Regions from separate parts of the Homo sapiens genome. Here all the other regions are linked to region 2. Evidence: promoter capture Hi-C in human tissues and cell types (Jung and others, 2019). All regions are on one chromosome and are shown on one strand. The core of a region is centred on a gene start or on the middle of the fragment in contact, and the rest is flanking DNA. Distances in the headings are between cores, read along the strand shown.

Region 1 (3,636 bases), core at 526-3,025, 380 kb after region 2:
GATACTAATTTATAAACTTGGAAACCTTGGCCTTTAACCAGAGCTTACAAACTGTAGGGGAAAGATTATCCTTTTGCCCTATGATACCCTTATTTCAGGGACATTTGGAGCACTTGATATTTTTTATTTCCTCATCATGTGTTGGGAAGAAGAGATGCCAGGAACACAATGACAAGTCCAAGACATGCAAATCAAAATGGAACCCAGGTTTCTTCTTACTTAGTTCAGTTCTTATGAAATACATCACTATGTAATAAAATTAAATCTCTCATGTTGGTATACCAGACCATTTTAATGTTAAAGGGAGAAGTTGATTTACGCTCACAAATTACCACTACCACCATTTCCTCCCCACCAAAAGAAAAACCTAAACATACACTAAAACATCCCCTACACTCTAAAAATCAGCACATTTCCAAAATAGAATCATACATATTACTCTCAAACTCTATTTTCATTTTAAAATATATCACACACACCCCTCTAGTTCAATATATGCCATAACTCATTCTTTGTAATAGCCTCATAACATTCCATATTATAGATATATCATGATTTTTCTATTGTTCCCGTACTGATGGACTTTGTTTTCAGCTTTTAGAAAAATCAACACATACAGTGCTACAATTTTAACACACATGCTAATTATTTTATTTCAGACAGGTATTTTCTAATAGGATTTATCAAAAGGGTGTGAGGATCTTAACTCTTAAAACTTTTTTTGACATATAGAAATTTTTATTTAAATAGAGACGAGGGTCTCACCATGTTGCCTAGACTTGTCTCAACCTCCTAGGCTCAAGGAATCAACCCTCTTTGGCCTCCCAAAGTGTTAGGATTACAGGCGTGAGCCACCGTGCGTGGCGGAGGATCTTAACTTTTATTAGATTCAGCTGATTACTTTCCGAAGAGGTTATAACAATTTGACCTTCTCTGGCACTATATGACAGTTCCAGTTGCTTCCTCATCCTCACCAGCACTAAGCATTTTCTATCTATGGGAAAAATTAAAACACTTAATTGTTTTAATTTGCATTTCCTTGTGAGTGAAATGTGCCTTTTTATGTAAGTTAGTTTTTCTTTGCATATTCTCTTCTGTAAATGGCCCTCTAGGATAAAATTAAGTTATATTCTTCCTTATACTGTGTACAAAAAAATAATTCCATATAAAGATCTAAATGTAAAAAAGAAAAATTATGCAAAATCAGCAGGAAAACAATCCTAGAATATTTAGAGTGGGAGCAATATTTGACATTTTTAAACAAGCTAAAACTAAATACCACAAAGAAAGAAAAACTAATGGTGGATTTGAATTATAACCATTAAGATGGTTTCTATTGCTCTTTTCCTTACAGAAAAAGTCAAAAGACAAATGACAGATTGGTAAAGAAGCATGTGTTACAGATATGATACACAAAGGATTAATATCTCTAATACATGGTTCTCTCAGAAGCTGATAAGAAAATGCAAAATTAAAAATTTAAAAAAACCCAAAAATGAGCAAAGCATACAAATTCACTGACTTTTTTCCCTCTCTGACACACTACTTCTGAAGTCCCCTGTGTTTAAAATGTAGAACCTGTGCTTGTTTACATCAGATACATCAATGAGTAGATGTCTCTCCTCCTACATGGCCTTCTCACACTCACCTCTTTTCTCTAGCTGTAGGGCCTCTTGGCACCAGGGTCTGATTTTCTCATGTGGTGTGTTGCCTTTGGTAAACCTCACATACCTCCTAATCACAGCTGAGCTGTCCTTTTGACGTGTGCCCCCACGTCTCCCCTTTCAACTCTGCAGCGAACTTACAGCAGCTCAATGCTTCTTGAAGCCAAAAGCTTATATTCAGAAAGCTCTGTACACAAAACAAAAAGCCCCACTGAGCACCACTTCACCAATTTCAGGTGTGCCCTACAACGGAAGGACACATTTACTTGCAGAGTTTAGAAACTGAGTTTTGAGAAGACACCTGTGTAGCACTTATATCTATGAGAATTGAAAGCAACTACTTGCATACCACACACATAGATGAGGAACAACTGAGACAACCCAAGACAAAGTGCTTTGCAAAGTCTAATGTCCTACATACAACTGACAGTAAGCCATTGGGCCCAGTTTCCCTTAAAACCACACAATTAAAAATAATCAGTAAGCAACGGGAGCAATCATGTACCCCTTACTTCCTTTCCCAAGCTGGAGACTCTCAACAGCTCTGATCTGCTCTCACAGCCATGCCCAACAAATTCCTCATCATTCAAGGCCCTGCCTTAAGGATAACATCTTCAGGAAGTCCTCTTCCATCTTAGACTCATCCCCCAATTTTTGGTTATCAGTTCCTTCTGAGTTGTTAGCATTCTGTGTTAACAAGTTATAAAGGAGAAGTCCCTTATAACTTTAACCACAGTTGTAATTAATCTGAGTTACCTGGGCTAGAATAGTCGGCTACCTGGGCTAGAGTGGAAATTCAGTGAAAACAAGGATCATGTCCATTTTGTGTAGAGTGCTTAGCATGGTTCCAGGTATGTATTAGATGATCAAAACCTTTGTTGAATGAGTAAAGAAAAACCACAGTATCTTGTTTATTTATATCATAGCTGTTGTAAGAGTTTATAACTGTTTACTTGTTCATTGTTTGTTTCCCTCGTGAAATTATGGGCTTCACAAAACAGGTGCTTTTTTTCTGCCTTAGTGCTAGCCCTTTATATTCCTAATATCTAAAACAATTTGGGACATATAGGTGCTCAATACAAATTTAACAAATAAATGAATATAGGCCTCAGTATATGCTGTTGTTGGTGAACAAGGAACTTTGAGATCATCATCACCTCCATTTTCAAAACTTCATGACTGAAAATTGTAAGCAACTTCAATCTCCATAGACTTTAAGTCATTTTACATCTACATTGTTACTTAATGTACCAGTATTTTACATTTCGTTTTTTTAGAGATGGAGTCACTCTGTCACCCAGGCTGGAGTGCAGTGGCACAACCATAGCTCACTGCAACCTTGAACTCGTGGGTTCAAGAGATCCTCTCACCTCTGCCTCTAGAGTAGCTAGGACCACAGACTTGTGCCACTGTGCCTGGGTTTTATTTTAAAATTGTTTTTGTAGAGACAAGGTATTGCTGTGTCACTCAGGCTGGTCTCAAGCAATCTTGGCCTCAAGCAATCCTCCTGGTTCAGCAATCCTCCTGCCTCAGCCTCCCAAAGTGCTGGGATAACATGCGTAAGCCACCATGCTTGGCTATTTACATTATAAAACACAAAAAATTAAAATGTACTTAAGAATGAGATAAAATAAATTTTAGATATGTATGCTACTTTGGACCATCCTACTTTGAAGATAATTTTTTTTCTGGATGACAATGGGTACCCCAGATTTGCGCTATGATCTGTCACTTAAGATAGCTGCAAATTTAAGATTTTTCAACATTCCTTAACCAGAAGCCTGAGTTTTAAGACAAAAGCCTCTTTAATCAAGGTTTTAGAACTCATGAGAGCAAGACAGAGGCCAAGAAAAATGATTTGTAAGTGATTGAAAAATAATTTTTATTCAGAAGCTCTTTTTCTTATAGTTTTCAGGTTGAGGTTACTGGTTAGGGAGATAATGAAGTATATATAGATCACTGGTGATGTCTA
Region 2 (3,741 bases), core at 343-2,842:
GTATCTTTGTGTTAAATGTTCTGGTCTCTCAAACGATTTCAACTTTGATGGATGCAATAGATCTAACAATGTTCCCCCTTTAACAACTCCTCATCTGCCTAACCTCATAGGTAGGAGGTATTGTTTGGATTTTCCCTGCTGCGGGCTTCATTACACTAGATCTCTTCCATCTGAACTATAAATCACAATTCAAGCTTGAGAGCAGCTGCCACTGTCCAGACATGTGGCTGGTGGGTGTCATTGTCTTTTTCATTTTCCTCATTTCAAACCCTCCCTTCCCTTGTCACCTAAAGCCATTTTATCTAAAGGTTCTTTGCTTCCCTGCTTTCATGCCGCCACCCCCACCCTCACCCCTTAACCACCGGTCTTGTTCTTCCAGGTCAGCCCAGTCAGATACAATATTACTCTATGTTTTTCCTGTGGCGGAGGCGGAGAGATGTCAGAACGGGCTGCACCTCTTGCAAACCCCTTCTCAAGACTGTCAACAAGGAAACAACTTCAGCAGCCTATCTCCCCAAAGTACCTCGCCAAACGAAAAAGTTATTGTTAATTATGATACGGAACCTTTCCCACACCCAATCTTGACATACCAGCCCCACCTCAATTTCCAAGCTAATAAACAACAGCTCATCTTCTGCTTCATCACAAAGGGTGGTATCCAGTCCGCACCTCACGGACCACCAACAAAATCCTCTCACTCTCAAGTCGATCCCTCGAACCCAGGTGCCCCGCGATCCTAAGCCCTGCCGCGTTTCCCGAGCCCAGCTCACTGCCCTTCCTCCTCTACCCCGCCTCTGCCCCACATCCAGCCGAGTTCCTGTCAACTCCAGACAGGGAACAGAGGGCTCCGCGAGGGCTTCCCGAGGTCAGAGGCGCGGGCCTCGGGCAAGCCCCGGGCGACCCCACCCCCCCACAGGCGCCCCCCTCCCCGCCCCACAACAAGCACCCCATCCCCCGGGCCTCCTCCCCGCTCACCTAACGCCACCTCGCAAGCTTTGCGCAGCTGGGAGTGATGCGCCTTCTTCACTTCCTTGTCGGCCAATATCTTCTCCAGAGCCCGGGTCAGGAACATGTTCTTCGTCTTCTTCCCCTCATACATGGACGCAGAGAAGGAGGCGGCGGCTCGTCCGACCCGCGGCTCCCAGCGGCTGGAGGGGAGGAGGAGGAGAGGAAGGAAGAGAAGAGAGAAAGGAGAGGGGGTGGAGGTGGGGGATTGGAGGCGTGGAGGGCAGCGGCAGGATCAGGAAGGGGCGGGCGAGCGGGACCAGCCGCGGTGTCGGCGAAGGGCGTCGAGGTCCTCGCCGCCCCCAAGAAGCCGTACCTCGAGGGCCGCGCCCGTCGGGCCTCCGCTTCTCCCGGCCCGGGGGTCGCGTCCCGGCCGCCCCTCTCACTCGTCCCTCCGGCCCTGGTGGCGGTGAGGGAGCCCGGCCCGGGCGGCTGTCTGCCGGGAACTGAGGGACGAGGTGGCGGCGGCTCTCAGAGGCACCGCGAGAGAAGGGCTACCCTGGCTACTGTGGGGATTAGCACCCGCCGCGGCCGCGAACTGGCCCCCATCACCGCCGACCTGCCCCGGCCGCCATGTTGGGAGGAAACGACGCGTCACGCAGCGGCCGAACGGCTGCAGACGAGGAAGCGGCGGCGGCGGCGGCGGCGGCGGCGCTCCCTGCCCAGAGCTGCCGCGGCGCCGGGAGGCTGGGGGCGGAGGGCGGCGCGGGAGGAGCGGCCCGAGCCGCAGCGCTACGGCGGCCCGGCGGGGCCTCCAGCGTTCGCCTGCAGGGCGGCGTGGGGCGTGGCGGGCCTCTGGTGGCACCGCGCCCAGCACTTCGGGCTCTTGGTGGCGGCCGAGCTGCGGGACCAGAGATCCCCCCACTCGGCACCCCTGCTCCTGCCGAGTGAACAGGACTCCTGGCTACTCTGCACTGGCTTTCTAACTTTCTGATGGGGGTGCAGTCCTTTGCATTCCAGGGGTCACAGCAACACCCGCATCGCCCGTTCTCAGCCGCAGGGTCTCCGCCTGCATCACTCGACTCTAAAATTTCCTTCCCTAGTGCACGGAACTGCTGTCCAGGACTCTGCTCTCCGACTACCTCAGGGAGGATTCTGTTTTGGGAAAAGTAAGCCAAAACCTATTGATAAGGGTTCAAAAATGTTTCACTTTTTTCTCTCTCTGTCGGATAAATCGGTCAACTCTAGATTTCAGGTCCCTTCTGAATTGACTCAGTTAAGGTGAATGGTTGTGAATGAGGTCCCTTAGAGTTCTGTGTTTCTGTGCCTTTAATACTAAGATTTAGTCCAGGACATGTAAACCAGTTTAGAATGGAAAAGCTTTAAGTACAAACAGATTAACACACGTGACCATGTGTTTGCTTTAGTCTGAGTGTAGAACTCAAATTTCTGCAGTATTTAATTTCTACAGTTTCCTTCTGAGCAGAAAAAGAATACCATAAAAATATTTGCAAACATTATATATGGTGATCTAGGGTCACGTCTCCAAGTTCTAAGCTTCTGTGGCTCCACGCACACAGGTTCCCTAATGTTTACTATGCATCTGTCACTGTTCTGTTCTATTAGATTGCCTTAACTATAGGCTTGTCCTAACGTAACCATCCAAACCTAAGGAAGGAGAAACTTAAGTGACTCTGTGAACTTAGTGAAGTGACCAGATTTAGGAAGGCTAAAACCCAGAGGAAATAAAATGGAAAACTTGAAGGTGACAAATTAAAGTGGAAAAATAGATTAATTTTTTTAAACTTTATTGTCCTGAGAAACAAATCTATAAATTCATTAATTTTATTTTAGAGACTATCTCTAGATTCCTGGAAATGAAGGATTCATTATACTCTTAGATCAGATATAATACTGATTTCTGTGTATACGTTAATAAACTTTTTTAGAACAAGTTCCATTTCTTTTATTTTTTTCTTCCCTTCTTTCACAGGTGTTGATCCATTTCTAATTCATCTTTGTTTCTTCATAATGGAGTGTTGTGCCAGGTACTGTTGAGGGTACTAGCTGATCACCAAACCCATTTACTCTTCTTTCTTAGTATAGAATTGCATTGTCCAGCCTCCCTTGAAGTTAGGTGTAGCCATCCAGGCTTAACCTATTGTTAAAAAACCAACAAGAAATTCCCACAAGCAATCTTTCATGCTGTTTCCCTTTTTTTTTTTTTTCTTTTGGTAGAGATGGCATCTCACCATGTTGAACTCGTGGCCTCAAGCGATCCTCCTGCCTCAGCCTCCCAGTGCTGAGATTACAGGCATAAGCCACCATGCCCAGTCTCTCTTTTCCCTTCTATGGCCACAGCTGAAGATGGCAGAACCACAAGTTAGGAGTCTTAGTTTCTGAATTGGAACTCTTGGAGAAGAACCATCTAGAATAACTATTTTGTACTTTACATGAACGAAGCAGACTCTTCGGTTATGTTTAGCTGTCAGCTTTATCGTAAAACATACTTGGGATTCATTGATGAACAAGACAAGCTGGCACCTGTAGTCCCAGCACTTTGGGAGGCCAAGGCAGGAGAATGGCTTGAGGCCGGGATTTGCAGATGAAACTGGGCAACGTAGCAAGACACTGTCTTTACAAAAAATAAAGAAAAATTAGCCAGGCACGGTGGCATCCACCTGTAGTTGCAGCTGCTCAGGAGACTGAGGAGGAAGGATCGCTTGAGCTCAGGAGTTCGAGGCTGCAGTGAACTATGATATGATAGTGCCACAGCATTCATAATCATCTCATCTG
Region 3 (3,700 bases), core at 25-2,524, 370 kb before region 2:
GACTCCCCAGCTAGCTTGTGGCAAAATATTTGAGATCAGGATTATCTCATTTGAGTTTTTATATTCAGTGTTGCCCAGCATATGGCAGATGTCTCATGTTTTATATATAAATGAAATTACTTTCTGGTATGGGTATTTATTTATTTAATTTATTGAGATGGGGTCCCACTCTGTTGCCCAGGCTGGAGTGCAGTGGAGCGATCTCAGCTCATTGCAGCCTCTGTCTCCCAGGCTCAAGTGACCCTCCCACTTCAGCCTCCAAAGTAGCTGGGACTATAGGCACGCACCACCATGTCCAGCTAATTTTTGTATTTTTTTTTTTGTAGAGAAGGGGTTTCTCCATGTTGGCCAGGCTGGTCTTGAACTCCTGGACTAAAATGATCTGCCCACCTAAGCCTCCCAAAATGCTGAGATTATAGGCGTGAACCATTGTCCCCAGCTCTGGTTTATTTTTCCATCAAAGCAATACCTTTTTTAAACCAAAAAGCAAATTTTTCCTCATCAGGAGAAACTTCTGCCTCCTTCAGAGACAACAGCTTAAAAATCTGGTTTGTAGAAGTGGTGAAAGTAGTCTAATTCTGTAGGCCTCTGGACTTTCTGCAACCATATGCTCTGAAGTCGCCCACCCACTGGTGGACTAGTCATCATCAGCTAGGCCTCAGGCTCCTTTGACAGAATCCCTGATCATTGAGACATCTTTACCTACTGCCTCTGGGACTTTTCGGAGTCTCCTACCTTACCTCAGTGGGTGTATCCAGTCTAACGCCGAAGTCTTCTGGAAACACCCCTTCCCATCGTAACTTTCTGAGTGTTTGGGCAGACCAACAATGAACTTTTTTTTTCTTTCTTTCTATGTTTGGCCAAAAAGGATTGAGAACAAAGAACTAGGAGACAGATTGGATGGCCTCTGTTCCTCTTTGTTTACTGTGAAGATGTCTCCTCCCCACCAAAAAGATAAAGTCACATAAATATTTGAAAGAACCTACCCCATCTCTTAAATAATTTTAGTGTAATCTTCTCAGGAACTTTCTGGAGATGCATTTGCATTTACAGGGTATCTCTGTATTTCAGAGAAAAAGGCTAATTTTGGCTTACCCACCTGTGGGTAATAAACAGGAACTATATGATGCATTGTTTTGAAGTTACCTGTAGCACACAAAGAAATAAAAGCATTCTGCTTTGAAATTAATAACTAAATTTTTAAAAAGGGTATAACAATATTAGATTATCTAAAAATTAAATAAAGCCAAATGAATACACAGTAAAACTAGTAATAAAATTAATAACCCGAGGAAAAAATAGCACAGACTTTCATATACAAAAACCTATACAGGAAAGTTCATGATCAACTCTTAAAATAAAATGAGCATGCCAACATTAATATAAACATTAACTGCCCTTAATTTTACTGTTCTGAGTTAGTTTATTTTTTCAAATTGTTTAACTTGTAGGGAGTAAATTAATCGTGTATCGTTTTGGGGATATGTCCATACCTTTATTCTGGCACTTAACATTCCATATCATTTACCTGCTTTCAGATCCTCCTCCCTTTCCAGCAGTAATTTCCTTTTAAGTAGGGACAGCCCTATTCACCTCTAATCCACAGTGGCTGGCATATTCTTGGACACATTCGAGGTGCTTAATAAATGTTTATTAAATGTTTGTTATGAATTTTTCTATAGAAGTGCTATAAAAGAAAGGGCTAAAAGATGTGAGTATAATATTTTGGATTTTATTAAGATATTAAAGTATGTTTACAATTTTGTGTTATATAGCTATATGGCTATACTTAGGATAAGATTTTTAAATTGTAAGATCCTTGAAGTTAGAGGTTATAATAATTCCTATAATTTTACCATAATCCCCAATATAGAGCTCCAAATTTACAAGGCTATCAAAAACACATAAAAGATTAGGAAGTACAAAAATTATTACCATCTTTTTAAGAATTCCTGTTCCCTTACAATGTATTTGGTTGCACAGAGGTGCCTTTAAAAAGTTCATCTTAACTCTTCTAAAGACCTGAAAGGTAGGTATACTGTAGATTTTGAAAATACATAATATATTTTCTAGATTTTAATTTATGCTTTCCCTTTCTCTTGCACAGTTATAAAAGAGTCTTTGCATAAAGACCATATAGTATGCTATTGGACATATACAAAAGGATAGAGTTATTGTATATTACATACGTGTATACAGGGATGTCACTGCTTTTAAGCCTGAGAGTTCCAGGTTTGTACCATCTGTTTGGATGGGGATGGCAAACATGGGCAAAGGGGAGGGAGGACCTACAAATGGCCAAGGAAGAATAACCAAGTACTCCTGAGAAAAGCTCAGAAAATTTTCTGCTGCAGCTACTCAGTGTGTTCACTTTAAATTTTATTTTAATTGATTTTAGAGACCATTTTTTTTTGAGACAGAGTGTCATCTTGTCACCCAGGCTGGAATGCAGTGGCACAATCTCGGCTCACTACAACCTTTGCCTCCCGGGTTCAAGTGATTCTCCTGCCTCAGCCTCCCTAGTAGCTGGGATTATAGGCGCCTGCCACCACACCCGGCTAATTTTTGTACTATTAGTAGAGGCGGGGTTTCACCATGTTGGCCAGGCTGGTCGTGAACTCCTGACCTCAGGTGATCTGCCCACCTCAGCCTCCCAAAGTCCTGGGATTACAGGCATGAGCCACCGCACCTGGCCGAGACCATTTTTCAATATAGTAAATTATGTAATCTATTTGAGTACTCCCTTTAAAATTTTGAAATTTGTCATATTATCCTATTTCCTCTAGCTCCTTTTTAGTTATAAAAATTGTTTACATATCACATATTTCCACATCTGTTATTTTCCCAAATTCCCACCAAATTGAAGTGAATTTCTAAGTAGAGCATTATTGCTTTAGAACATTAATTGTCCTTATATCCCAGCTTCATTTAGCCTGTGCCCCCTGCTAGCTTTGTAAACTCAAGACAAGTCACTTCATTTGCTGAAACTGAACTTTCTCATCTGCAAAATGCATATAATGATCTTCTGCCTCACAGGTTATAATGATTAAATGCAGTAATGTATGTAAATATCTGAAATGTTTAGCACAGTAAATGTCAGTTCTTTTTTCTTCCCTTGCCCCCTCTTCTTTGCCTTCTAATTCTGAGTGCTTTCCATTTTAAATTATTAATAATTATCATAACAGCAACTACCACAAGGTCTGAAATGAAGCTTACATACTATAACATTCTATATGGACTTTTAAAAATTGTAGCAAAACTATTTAACATGAGATCTACCCTCCTTTTTTTTTTTGGTTTTTTGTTTTGTTTTTTGTTTTGTTTTTTGAGACGATGTCTTGCTCTGTCACCCAGGCTGGGGTACAGTGGTGCCATCTCGGCTCACTGCAGCCTCTGCCTCCCAGGTTCAAGCAGTTCTCTTGCCTCATCCTCCCAAGTAACTGAGACTACAGGGGCACGCCACCACACCCAGCTAATTGTTTTGTATTTTTGGTAGAGACAGGGTTTCGCCATATTGGCCAGGCTGGTCTCGAACTCCTGACCTCAAGTGATCTGCCTGCCTCAGCCTCCCAAAGTGCTGAGATTACAGTTGTGAACCACCGCGCCCAGCCAAAATCTACCCTCTTAACAAAGTTTTAAATGTACAATACATTATTTTTTTTACCTTAGGTACAATATCGTATAGTAGATCTCTAGAGTT

What was found. The method cuts DNA at HindIII sites, captures the fragments that hold promoters and counts their contacts. A contact is called where the count stands out against the background at its distance.
Region 1: a contact is called between a fragment that was not itself captured here and the fragment with the promoter of ARFGEF1 in region 2, in 1 of the 25 tissues and cell types used here (lymphoblastoid cells).
Region 3: a contact is called between a fragment that was not itself captured here and the fragment with the promoter of ARFGEF1 in region 2, in 1 of the 25 tissues and cell types used here (mesendoderm cells).

Annotation. Positions count from the first base shown.
Region 1 is chr8:67,722,601-67,726,236 of GRCh38, forward strand. All of the region lies in intron 1 of CPA6 (carboxypeptidase A6), which reads right to left. Among named protein-coding and RNA genes, the nearest start is that of CPA6, 22 kb to the right of the region's middle. The HindIII fragment of the contact is 4,297 bases long and covers 1-3,636 here.
Region 2 is chr8:67,342,189-67,345,929 of GRCh38, forward strand. ARFGEF1 (ARF guanine nucleotide exchange factor 1) reads right to left here and starts at 1,593. Exons shown (of 39, transcript NM_006421.5): 1 at 976-1,593. The coding sequence starts at 1,099. ARFGEF1-DT (ARFGEF1 divergent transcript) reads left to right here and starts at 1,646. Exons shown (of 5, transcript NR_136224.1): 1 at 1,646-2,114. RefSeq lists an enhancer at 607-1,287 and silencers at 1,214-1,443, 1,624-1,883. The HindIII fragment of the contact is 2,723 bases long and covers 594-3,316 here.
Region 3 is chr8:66,969,995-66,973,694 of GRCh38, forward strand. The region is part of intron 7 of PPP1R42 (protein phosphatase 1 regulatory subunit 42); the gene reads right to left. Among named protein-coding and RNA genes, the nearest start is that of TCF24, 9.3 kb to the left of the region's middle. The HindIII fragment of the contact is 6,698 bases long and covers 1-3,700 here.